Linked DNA regions of Homo sapiens: region 1 is linked to region 2. The links are contacts of gene promoters, found by promoter capture Hi-C in blood cells and fetal thymus (Javierre and others, 2016). All regions are on one chromosome and are shown on one strand. The core of a region is centred on a gene start or on the middle of the fragment in contact, and the rest is flanking DNA. Distances in the headings are between cores, read along the strand shown.

What was found. Contacts are between HindIII fragments. The CHiCAGO score rates a contact against its expected background, and 5 or more counts as called.
Region 1: a contact is called between a fragment that was not itself captured here and the fragment with the promoter of CD27-AS1 in region 2, in 1 of 17 cell types (naive CD4 T cells). The highest score is 5.8, in naive CD4 T cells.

The regions. Positions count from the first base shown.
Region 1 is chr12:6,664,477-6,671,388 of GRCh38, reverse strand. ZNF384 (zinc finger protein 384) reads left to right here. Exons shown (of 12, transcript NM_001385745.1): 10 at 551-629; 11 at 2,200-2,358; 12 at 3,274-4,912. The coding sequence ends at 3,675. Among named protein-coding and RNA genes, the nearest start is that of ING4, 4.8 kb to the right of the region's middle. The HindIII fragment of the contact is 755 bases long and covers 3,175-3,929 here.
Region 2 is chr12:6,450,267-6,454,713 of GRCh38, reverse strand. It overlaps CD27-AS1 (CD27 antisense RNA 1), which reads left to right and starts at 3,197. Exons shown (of 6, transcript NR_015382.2): 1 at 3,197-4,373. CD27 (CD27 molecule) reads right to left here. Exons shown (of 6, transcript NM_001242.5): 3 at 4,362-4,447; 4 at 4,084-4,173; 5 at 3,700-3,819; 6 at 3,001-3,446. The coding sequence ends at 3,322. TAPBPL (TAP binding protein like) reads right to left here and starts at 2,672. Exons shown (of 7, transcript NM_018009.5): 1 at 2,402-2,672; 2 at 1,417-1,647; 3 at 998-1,267. The coding sequence starts at 2,465. RefSeq lists enhancers at 2,373-2,972, 3,403-3,562, 3,653-3,862. The HindIII fragment of the contact is 9,942 bases long and covers 1-4,447 here.

The DNA.
Region 1 (6,912 bases), core at 2,303-4,802, 220 kb before region 2:
CTAGGCATTTCCTGTCATTAGGGGGCTGGGCTGCAAAAAGCACTTAGTTTTCATGAGTTTCCATTAATATCACTACTACTCTCCACAATCAGTGTAACTGCTTTTCTTTGTTACCATAACATTCTCTGGAAGTGATGCTCAAGGCTGAGGGGACTGTTTCTGGCCATAAGGTGGGGCCAAGGAAGACGCGTTCTGCTTTTCTTTTTCCTTGCCATTGTGTTTATCTTGTGTTCTTGAATGTTCGTTAGGACAGTTACTGTAGGAGCTGACTTGAATGCCAAATTGTGGGCTGCCTGTTCCTTGGGTGCCAAGTCCTCAGTCTCTCCTCCCCCAGCAGAGAGGAGCCTCAGCTTGAGCTGAGTGATGCAGGCATTGACCAGAAGCAAATCATCAGTACCTGATCCACATCAGAGAGGAAGGCTGGTGCCTCTTGGAGGCCCATCTGATGTGCCTCCTTAGGAGAGCAGGATGGGCCTGGAGAAGATTTGTTGAGCCAGTTCCTAAATGGTCTTGCTGACATTCTTTCCCTTTTTTCTCTTATCCTGTGCAGAATCCACACTGGTGATAGACCATACAAATGTGCACACCCAGGCTGTGAGAAAGCCTTCACACAACTCTCCAATCTGCAGGTAAATGTTCCACCCTCCACACAAGACCTTGAGTCTGAGACATGGGGCCATTTGAATAGTATCGTGGTTCTCAAATGTTTTCAGGACTCCTTTACACTCAAACATTATTGAGGGACCCAAAGAGTTTTTGTTTATGTGGGTAATAGCTGTCTACATAGACGTTGTAAAACTGAAAAACCTGAAAAATATTTATAATAGTAATCTGTTTAGAAAGAACAAAAATAAACCCATTGTGTGTTAACATAAATAACATATTCCAAGACCCTCCAAAAACAACTGAGTGAGAAGAATGGCATTATTATACATTTTTGCAGGTGTCTATTTTTTATTTTTGGGACAGGACCTTGCTCTGTCACCCAGGCTGAGTGCAGTGGTGTTATCATGGCCCACTGCAGCCTCAGCCTCCCGGTCTCAAGTGATCCTTCCACCTCAGCCTCCCAAGTAGCTGGGATTCTAGGCATGCACCATCACACCTGGCTGTTTTTTTCATTTTCGTAGAGATGGGGTCTTGCTATCTTCCCTAGGCTGGTCTCGAACTCCTGGACACAGGCCATCCTCCCGCCTCAGCCTCCCCAAAGTGCTAGGATTGCAAGCATGAGTCACCGCACCTGGCACAGGGGTCTTTAATGTCTTAAGCTAGAAGATGAGTAGATTCTCAGATCTGCTGCATCTGGCCTATTGTGTTATCACACATCATGTAACCTCTGTAAGGGTTACATGTAAAACATAAGGCACAATGAAGCCACTTGAAATTTTGAGGGGAACAAGATTTCAGTTAGGTTTTTCATCTTTGTGTTTGTGTGTGTGTGTGTGTGTGCGCGCGCGCGTGTGCGTGTTTGAGACAGAGGCTCGCTGGGTCACCTAGGCTGGAGTGCAGTGGTGTGATTTCAGCTTACTGCAACTTCCCAGGTTCAAGAGAGACAAAGGCAAACATTGTCTTATTATTTTGAAAAGATTTGGCTGGGCGCGGTGGCTCACACCTGTAATCTCAGCACTTTGGGCGGCGGAGGCGGGCGGATCACCTGAGCTCAGGAGTTGGAAACCAGCCTGGCCAACACGGTGAAACCTTGTCTCTACTAAAAATACAAAAAAAATTAGCCAGGCCTGGTGGCATGTGCCTGTAGTCCCAGCTACTTGCAGGCTGAGGCAGGAGAATCGCTTGAACCCGGGAAGCGGAGGTTGCAATGAGCCGAGATTGTGCCGCTGCACTCCAACCTGAGCGACAGAGTGAGAGACTTCATCTGGGAAAAAAAAAAAAAAAGAGTTTTGACCCTGTGGGCCCCCTGTGAAGGTCTTAGTGTTCCCTAAAGATCCCCATGCCTCATTTTAAGAACCACTGGACTGGTGAGACGGGCATAAGCTGTCTTGGGATCCTGGTATGTGCTACATGAGGTATGCTTCCACCCTTAGCCTGTAGCTTCTCAAGTTTCATTTGAAACAATTTCTACTTTCTTCAGATAGAGGGAGAAGCTGGGAGGCCTGACACCTACCTTTTTGCTTTCCATCGAGGTCAAGGGGGCAGGAGGAAAGAGTACAATGTATTCATTCTGGTTTCTCCCAATTTTCTCAGTCCCACAGACGGCAACACAACAAAGATAAACCCTTCAAGTGCCACAACTGTCATCGGGCGTACACGGATGCAGCCTCACTAGAGGTGCACCTGTCTACGCACACAGTGAAGCATGCCAAGGTGTACACCTGCACTATCTGCAGTCGGGCATACACATCAGTGAGTGCTCCGTTTCTTCTCTCCTTCCTCATAGTCCTCTAAGAGTACAGTCCACTTCACCCCATTTTCTGGGTAGAGATCTGTTGCAGTGAATACCCTGCCTCCCTAGCTCCAACTTAGCAGAACAGGTAAATATTCAGAAATTAATTAGACCCATTCTGAGGAATTTAGGGGATGCCTGATCTCCTAATCCTATAGAGACGCATAAGCTGTAATTCTTCATTTTACTTAAACATAAGGCAAAATAAAGCCACTTGAAATTTTGAGGGGAGCTGGATTTCAGTTAGGCATTTTCTTCTTCTTTTTTTTTTTTTTTTCTTTTTGAGACACAGTCTCGCCCTGTCACCCAGGCTGGAGTGCAGTGGTGTGATCTCGGCTCGGCTCACTGTAACCTCCACCTCCTGGGTTCAAGCGATTCTCCTGCCTCAGCCTCCCAAGTAGGTGGGATTACAGGTGCATGTTGCCATGCCCAGCAACTTTTTGTATTTTTAGTAGACATGGGGTTTCACCATGTTGCCCAGGCTGGTCTCAAACTCCTGACCTCAAGTGATCCACCTACCTCAGCCTCCCAAAGTACTGGGATTACAGGTGTGAGCCACCGCACCTGGCCCAGTTAGATATTTTCCATGAGACTCCAGAAAAGGTTGTAAAGTTGTTTCATTCAGGGGTCTTTGAAAAAAATAGCAGCTCATTCCTTTGCCAGTTGAATGTTGAGTGACTTCTAAAGGTTCCTCTCTTTTTTTTCTCAGTAGTGAGCCACTGAAAGTGCTACTTGAGTTTTGCTCAGTCTTGGCTCCAGAAAACCAGTATAAAGCTTACTCTGCTTACAGCAGAATCAGAGCCTGGGGTGCTAGTTACAAGTAATCTCTTTTCCTTCCTCTTTATCCCTCAACTTCTTTTTACCATCTCCCTCAGGAAACATACCTTATGAAACATATGCGCAAACACAACCCGCCTGATCTTCAGCAACAGGTGCAGGCAGCAGCAGCAGCGGCAGCAGTGGCCCAGGCCCAGGCTCAAGCTCAAGCCCAGGCTCAGGCTCAGGCTCAAGCCCAGGCCCAGGCCCAGGCCTCCCAGGCATCACAGCAGCAGCAGCAGCAGCAGCAGCAGCAGCAGCAGCAGCAGCAACAGCCACCACCACACTTCCAGTCTCCTGGGGCAGCCCCCCAGGGTGGGGGTGGTGGGGACAGCAATCCCAACCCTCCACCCCAGTGTTCCTTTGACCTGACCCCGTATAAGACGGCGGAGCATCATAAGGACATCTGCCTCACTGTCACCACCAGCACCATCCAGGTGGAGCACCTGGCCAGCTCTTAGAGATCCGTGCTGCCACCCACTGGGAAGAGGAAGAAGTAGTCCTGGTGTCTTCTTTCTCCAACTCTTGGTGGGAAAAGTCCTTTTCTTCCTTGACAGGCCTTGGCTCCATCTCCTTGGGCCTCTGTCACGGCTTTCCTTCACAGGATACCATCCTTTTTCTGAACTCTTCTTCAAAAGGAACATCAGCCCTCCTGATTGCAAAGGAATACTGAGCTGATGGTGTCATCCAGCAGCCTCCCCTCCCAAGCAAAGCTTCTAAAACTGGGGGTCGGTGCTCAAGGGAAGGATTTGCTATGACCTCATAGAACCTTGTCCAGTGTGGCCACTTACCCTATCCTTACCCTCCTTATCCTCAAAGTTTGGGCTGATGTAAGACTAGAGGCTGGCCCTCCCAGATAACAGAGAAAAGGGAGCCCCAAATGCAACCAGCCTCTTGTTCTATTCTTGCCTGCAAAAGAACAGAGGTTTCTCAAATGCCTCAGTCCCTGAGAGCCATTTCTTCCCCTACATCGTCTCACTTTGCTTCCTATTGACTGCTGGTAGAAGGAGATTTGGGGTAGGGGCTAGACCTCCTTTTATTTGAAGGGGGCAAGGGCTGAGATGTGGTCCCCAAGGGGCCAGAAATTCCCAAGTTGGTCACAGGTGGCTTAGAAGTGTGTGTTATGGTTTTACGGATTTCCTTGAAGCCTCTCTCCTTCTCTGCCTACAAAGACCCTATACTCTCAGTCTCCCCAACCCACCCCCAAGGAGCTGTGGGAGGCTTTGTGTTATCTGTGAAACTCCAAAACAGGGGTGTTGCGGAGAAGGGAGAGTTCAAGGCAAACGCAAGGACTGGACTTAGCTCCCTAGGTGCCACAGTCAGATGCCGGACACGGATTTATATATAAATATATATATATAAATATATTATACTCACTCATCACGGCCATCTTTGTTGTAACCATTTCTGTGTTTATAAATGCATTATCTCTGAGAATTTTCATATTTGATGTTTTGTTTATTTTTGTCCTTTTTTTCCCTCTCTCCACCCCTGTCCTCTAGCCACAGCATTTTTCTTTTTGTCTTTTTTTTTTTTTTTTAAATCATGGCAGATTTCAGAGGAAAGGAAATTAAAAAAAAAATCAGGAAACCAGTTGTTATAAAGTAATTTAAAAATGAAGAAAAAAAGAAAAAAACTTATGTACAAACCAAGGGGTGTTTTTAGAACATTGTATAGAAATAAATTCATGTAAAAGGATCAGAGGCAGTGGAGCTACTGATGTGAGCGAGCATGCGGAAAAGGTATTTGGGGAGATGTCCAAGAACAGTACTGAGGATTTATACCAGAGTGTGTGTGTGATGAACAAGTGCTTGTGTGATGATGCCCCATTTGTGCAATTCTCCAGTCATGGAAGGGTACAGTTTCATGATGTCTCCAGTGAAATCCTGGTTTATGAGGACTTCTACATACACATTCTGTCATGGGGATTGCATTGCCTAAATATGTGAGAGCAAGGCTTTGGTTATGTGTTAACAAAACAGCTAAGCTCCCTATGGAAGAAAAATGGAAGCCTCTTGAAAGGACCTACACTCCTGCCTGAGTCTGTGGAAGAGGGGCTTGCAGTTGGCAATGTGTATACATATGTGTATTTGTTACCTTGTGGAAATCATAACCGGTTAAGGGGTGCAAGATTGATTTATGCAGGAGAGCTGTAGTACTATGGAGTAGAATGTGGTCATGAAACCTGGACTTCAGCCCTTTGCCTACCATCAACCAGTGTTGGCCAGGGTGCTTCTTCAACTGTTAGTGAAGGGATTGGACTAGATAACTCTGAAGATACCTTTTTTGAGAATTAAGTAACTTGCTTTAAGGCTGGGTGCGGTGGCTCACGCCTGTAATCCCAGCATTTTGGGAGGGCGAGGCAGGCAGACTACTTGACGTCAGGAGTTCAAGACCAGCCTGGCCAACATGGTGAAACCCCATCTCTACTAAAAATACAAAAATTGATGGCCGTGCACGGTGGCTCACGCCTGTAATCCCAGCACTTTGGGAGGCCGAGACAGGTGAATCATGAGGTTAGGAGCTCGAGACCAGCCTGGCCAGTATGGTGAAACCCCGTCTCTACTGAAAATACAAAAAATAAGCTAGGCATAGTGGTGGGCGCCTGCAATCCCAGCTACTCAGGAGGCTGAGGCAGGAGAATCTTTTGAACCTAGGAGGCAGAGGTTGCAGTGAGCCAAGATCGTGCCATGGCACTCCAGCCTGGGCGACAGAGTGAGACTCTCTCTCAAAAAAGTAAAATAAAAATACAAAAATTAGCCAGGTGTGGTGGCACGCGCCTGTAGTCCCAGCTGCAGGCTGAGGCAGAAGAATGACTTGAACCTGGGAGGCGGAGGTTGCAGTGAGCCGGGATTGCACCACTGCACTCCAGCCTGGGCCACAGAGCGAGATTCTGTCTGGAAAAAAAAAAAAAAACAAAAAAAAAAAAACCTTGCTTTAAGCACCGAAAAAGTTGTGAAAGTTGTGACCAAGCTCCCACATCCTGAGAACTCTGGGACTGCTGGCCAATAGTACTTGTTATGTAGTTGGGCTGGGATAAATAAAGCCCACTTAATTTAGTGCTAGATATCCTGTGTGGGCACCTAAGATGGTGTCTCAATATGTTGTGTAATACCAATGAATGTATCACATATGACCAAATATGCCAATGTTTCTTAGCTCCCTGCATATTTACTGCTTTTTCCTCCCACTCTCACCAACTCTTGAAAAGGCCCTAATGGCCCTAACTTCATCACCAGTATTAGAACTAGAATCTACTCTTTTTATGGATACACTCACACTCACTTATTCCAACAACCCTATGAGGGAGGTAGTAGTCTCATTGTATAGTAAAACAGGCACAGAGATCAAGTTACCGAAAAGCATGACTTTTGTAATTAGAGCAGTTTCCCGGATTCTATTGCTGTATCTTACTACCTGCACACTAGTAAACCTGGGGTTTACAGGCTACAGATCCTTTCAGCTCTGATACCCCCACCACTCTACAGCCCCTGAACCCCCTCCTCCAGCCTGCTCTTACTGTCCAGATAATGTTTCAAATACATCCCTGCATCCATCTCGAAGCAAAACAAAGCAACTTCCAATCCGCCCCGGGTTGGAAGTTCCTCTTCTCCACATATTTGGTAGAAATTATATAGCTGAAAGTCTGTCTCTTTAAAAACTTGCCGTAAGACATTGGTAATTCTTATGAAGGATGT
Region 2 (4,447 bases), core at 1,948-4,447:
GAAGCACCAGAGCAGCCTAGCATTTCACTGGGAGAAAACCGGGTTTTGGCTCGATAAGACTACAGTGGACAGCACCCATGTACAGAATAGCATCATGTGTCTTATTTCCTCATGGCAGCCCAGTGAGATGAGAACGATCTCCATTTTGGAAATAACACAGGTTGTCTGTGTGCCTGGGGACGTTCAGGTAGGGGCTGCGAAGCATTCTCTTGTGGACTCAGGGTTTTTGTTGTTGTTGTTGTTTTTGAGACGGTGTCTCACTCAGCTGCCCAGGCTGGAGTGCAGTGGCGCAATCTCGGCTCACTGCAACCACCGTCTCTCAGGTTCAAGTGATTCTCCCGTCTCAGTCTCCTGAGTAGCTGGGATTACAGGCACCTGCCATCATGCCCGGCTAATTTCTGTATTTTAGTAGAGAGGGGGTTTCACCATGTTGGCCAGGCTGGTCTTGAACTCCTGACCTCAGGTGATCCACCTGCCTTGGCCTCCCAAAGTGCTGGGATTACAGGCATGGGCCTTCGCACCTGGCCTGACTCAGGGGTTTTTAGGAAGAAAGGACCAAGGCCTAGGGGTGCCCTGAGGTGACCAGTGTGGATGGAGGTGGATTTGTTCCCTTTCTTCTTCTGTGCCCCATATCTTACCACTTTAGAAAAGCAAAACTTTCTGTGACTTGCTTTTCTTTTCTTTTCTTTTTTTTTTTTGAGATGGAGTTTCGCTCTTGTTGCCCAGGCTGAAGTGCCATGGTGTGATCTCGGCTCACCGCAACCTCTGCCTTCCGGGTTCAAGCGATTCTCCTGCCTCAGCCTCCCTCGTAGCTGGGATTACAGGCACCCGCCACCATGCCCGGCTAATTTTGGTATTAGTAGAGACGGGGTTTCACCGTGTTGACCAGGCTGATCTCAAACTCCTGACCTCAGGTGATCCACCGACCTCGGTATCCCAAAATTCTGGAATTACAGGCGTGAGCCACCACACCTGGCCTTGCTTTTCATTTTCTTACCTGCAGTTCGCACAGTCCCCTGGGGGCTCAGTGGCAAGTTCAGCGTCGGGTGCCAGAGCGCCTCATTCTTGGTGACCCTGGGAGTCTTCATCACCAAGGAGATGCTAGGTCCCCCTCCAGAGACCTGCATGTTGGCCATGAACCAAGCTGCTGTCTTAACAGTGGTCTCTGTCATCTGGAGAAAGTAGCGGGAGATCTCACAGGTCACCTCCTTCCCACTGCAGTCAGCATGGAGCAAGGCCTCGGCCTGGGGAATCTGGACCAGGTCCACTGGGGAGAAGCAGGGCACACACAGAGGGCAAATTAGCGTGAGAACACCAGGGCCAACGGGAGGCAGTATGTGTGGCTGTAATCGGGACCTGGGCTGTCCTGGTGGAGGGAGCCCGGGAGGACCAAGGACACAGGTGGAAGGCTTTTACCTGAGGCCTCAAAGATAATAGGTGGGTCATCTTGGGCCAGTGTGCCCCCTTGGAAATCGGTGAAGTCCTCCAGGGAGCCATCGTCCAGCACTGGCACCTGCTTCAGCACAAGGGAGGCCCTTGCCCTGTCCTCACTGCTGGCGAGAGCTCCACGGTGCGCACCGTCCTTCGCCAGGAAGCAGTCTAGGACCACGTCCACTGCCCGCCACTGCCCCTCTGCTGGGTGGGGCTCTGCAGACAAAGGCTGGGGTGAGCACCGCCTTCCCCAGAAAGCTACTCCACACTTGCTTCCTGCCCCCGCCCTCAAGCTGTGGAGTCATCAAAGGGTAAAAGTTGCCATCCAAGATCCTAGCTGTTTCTGTGTCCCTCTATTCTCCCGTCATCCCCAAACCAGCTTTCTGGAGAGCACCTGCTAGTCCAGGCAAATACTTCTTGGTGAGAGTTAAAGTCCTGGATTTGCCTTGCTCAGAGGAGTTTATGCTTGCATTTCCAACTGTTGAATAAAAGACTATCTTTTCAGTCAAAGGAATTCTCAGAAAACAAGCAAGTGCCACCGCAGAGAGAGGAGACTGGACAGTTACTGTTGCTGGGGCACTGACAGCCTGCACTGCTTTCTCCCATTTCGGGTAGCCTTCCCCTCCCCCGCCTTCAAGGTCACCTTCCAAGTGATTTCCTCACCTGGGGAGTCCTTTCCTCTTCTGAAGTGTCAGCTCCCAGGCCAGTGCCCTCTCTGTAGGACAGTGGCTCCTGACCACAGCCACAGAGGCAGCCCCTCTTTAGCATTTTCCCTGTGGAGTCCCCACCCTCCCTCCACACACACTATTGGTTCCTTCCTTTGCCAGCCGCTGAGCCTTTCCCCTGTTGGGCTTAGAAGGCGATGGGGTCATCCCCGGCCCCTTTGCTCTTCTGGAATCTCGGGGAGGGTGGCACCCTGGGGCTTCAGTAGCTCTTCTCCCAGCCAGCTCTCCCCGACTCCCAGACTCACTGGTTTCTGCTGCTCCAGATAGAGCCAGGCAGAGCAGCAGGCACCAGCCCTCCTGTGTGCCCATGGAGGCTGCTCTCGAGTTCCCTCCTTGCCCACCGCCCTTCTCCACAGTCCTACGCTGCTTGCGAGGCCCGGCGGAAGAAGGGGGCTCTCCAAGCACACCTGGCAGCCTGCAGCCTTTAGGTTTCTTCCCTGTTCCCTCTGCTGCCGACTTTTCTTTCACTTTCACTTAGAGCAAGATGGCAGCCCGCGTCCCTGTGTGAAGCCGTCTGCAGCAGCTGCCAGAGCCCTGCTTGCTGTTTCCTTTCTCACCACCCACCTCACCCGGAAATCCCCTGGTGATTTCAAGACCTGACCTCTGCACCCTTTTGCTCCCCACCTGTCCCAAAAAAGTGGAGCTATAACTGTGGGAAAAGGGGATCTGAAGTCAGACACAGGATCCACAGTAGCCTGGGGACCTTTCTCACCCCCGCCCTTAAGCAGGCCCCAACATAACCGGCTGAGAAACCTCCTCTGCCAGATCCTGACCTGAGCCAGGAGGCGGCCAGGAAACTGGATTTTGGGACTGGGATTTCAGAGAGGAAGCTGGAGAGCTGCAGGGTGGTCATCTGTCACTTTATTTTGCCCGTCTTGTAGCATGTGGGTCTTTCGCAGCAGGAAGTGTGTTTTACAACCAGAGCCCCCGCCCTCCTGCAGCGCAGGCGCAGCTGGCTGGGCTCCTGCTTCCCACTCTCCACCTCATCCATATTTGTCCTCGTCCCTGCCAGTCTCGAAAAGGCACTCTGTCACGTGTACACAGGAAAGGGCCCTGACAAGAGGATGGGACTGCAGTTGTGGCTGCCAGGTCTCACTCTCCCTTGGATGGTCGGCGGGGTGGGGGTGGAGGCCAGGGCTGTAGTGCAGCTCCCGCAGGTGCTGGCTCAGGGGGAGCAGGCAGGCTCCGGTTTTCGGTAATCCTCCTGGATGGGGATGGTGCTGCCCTCCTCCTCCCTGGGGCAGCTGTAATGACAAGGCTCTGCAGGCTCCACAGGACTTTCTCCTTTGTCTGCAGAAGGAGATCCGATGAGTCTTGGCCAGCAGTGGGGGCAGGGGGAGACGGGAGAAGGAGATGGGTAGAGGCGGGTGCGCTTGGGGGAGGGGTGTCAGGAGCACGCCAGCTAAGGGGAGAGAAGGGGTAGGACCAAGGCTGGTGAAGTGGAGCTGGTGGGTTTCAGTGAGATTCCAGGCGTGGGCAGTGGGGTTGAGCCAGTGGGGTGTGGTGCAGGGGCAGGACCGGAGGCCTGTGTTCTGTCTCTTACTTGATCTATATTTCCTTCGTTGATGGAGGAACAGGGCCCCGGCCAGGGTGAAAACAAGGAACATTCCAGAGAAGATCACAAGGATGCGAATAAAATCGGAGCTGCACAGGGATCTTTGGGCTGTAATAGGAGGGGACACACAGGGGTTAGGGGAGGGTCTAGCCCTTGGCTCCCTCAGCCCAGCCCTCCTGTCACCTTGCCTCTCCCCTTTCCCCCACCTTATTCTATCCCACCCGCCACCGTTGGCCAACTCCTCTCCTAAACAGTGGACTCTGCTTTTTCCCCTCCTCTTATCCCTAATCCTAGGAGCTTTCTGTCTGGCTTCCCTCCTGGCCCCTCGTGTATGCATTCTCTCTAGCGGTGGGGATTAAGGAGAAAACTCACGTGGCCAGTGGGTAGAGAGAGTCCGGGCAGGCAGCTGCCTGAAGTCAGCCAGAGTCTGCATGTGCCCAGCTGTCCTGGCCTCCAGCATCTCTGGAAAAACAGAGACAGAATGAGTAGCAGCAGGGGACCCCATAGGGCACATCTGAAGGCCTGAGAGGTGCTGGATGGGATGGGAAGGCAGAAACAGGCTGACCTTATCTAGGGGTAGGAGTGGGGAGTACTGGTTGGGGTATCACCGCTACCCCACGTGATGGCACAGAGAGTTGCCTGGAACTTACCACTGACATAAGGTAAGTGGGTGGGCTGAGGGTGTGGGCTCAGGGCCTGAGACGACCGAGCGGTCAGCGAAGGGTTTGGAAGAGGA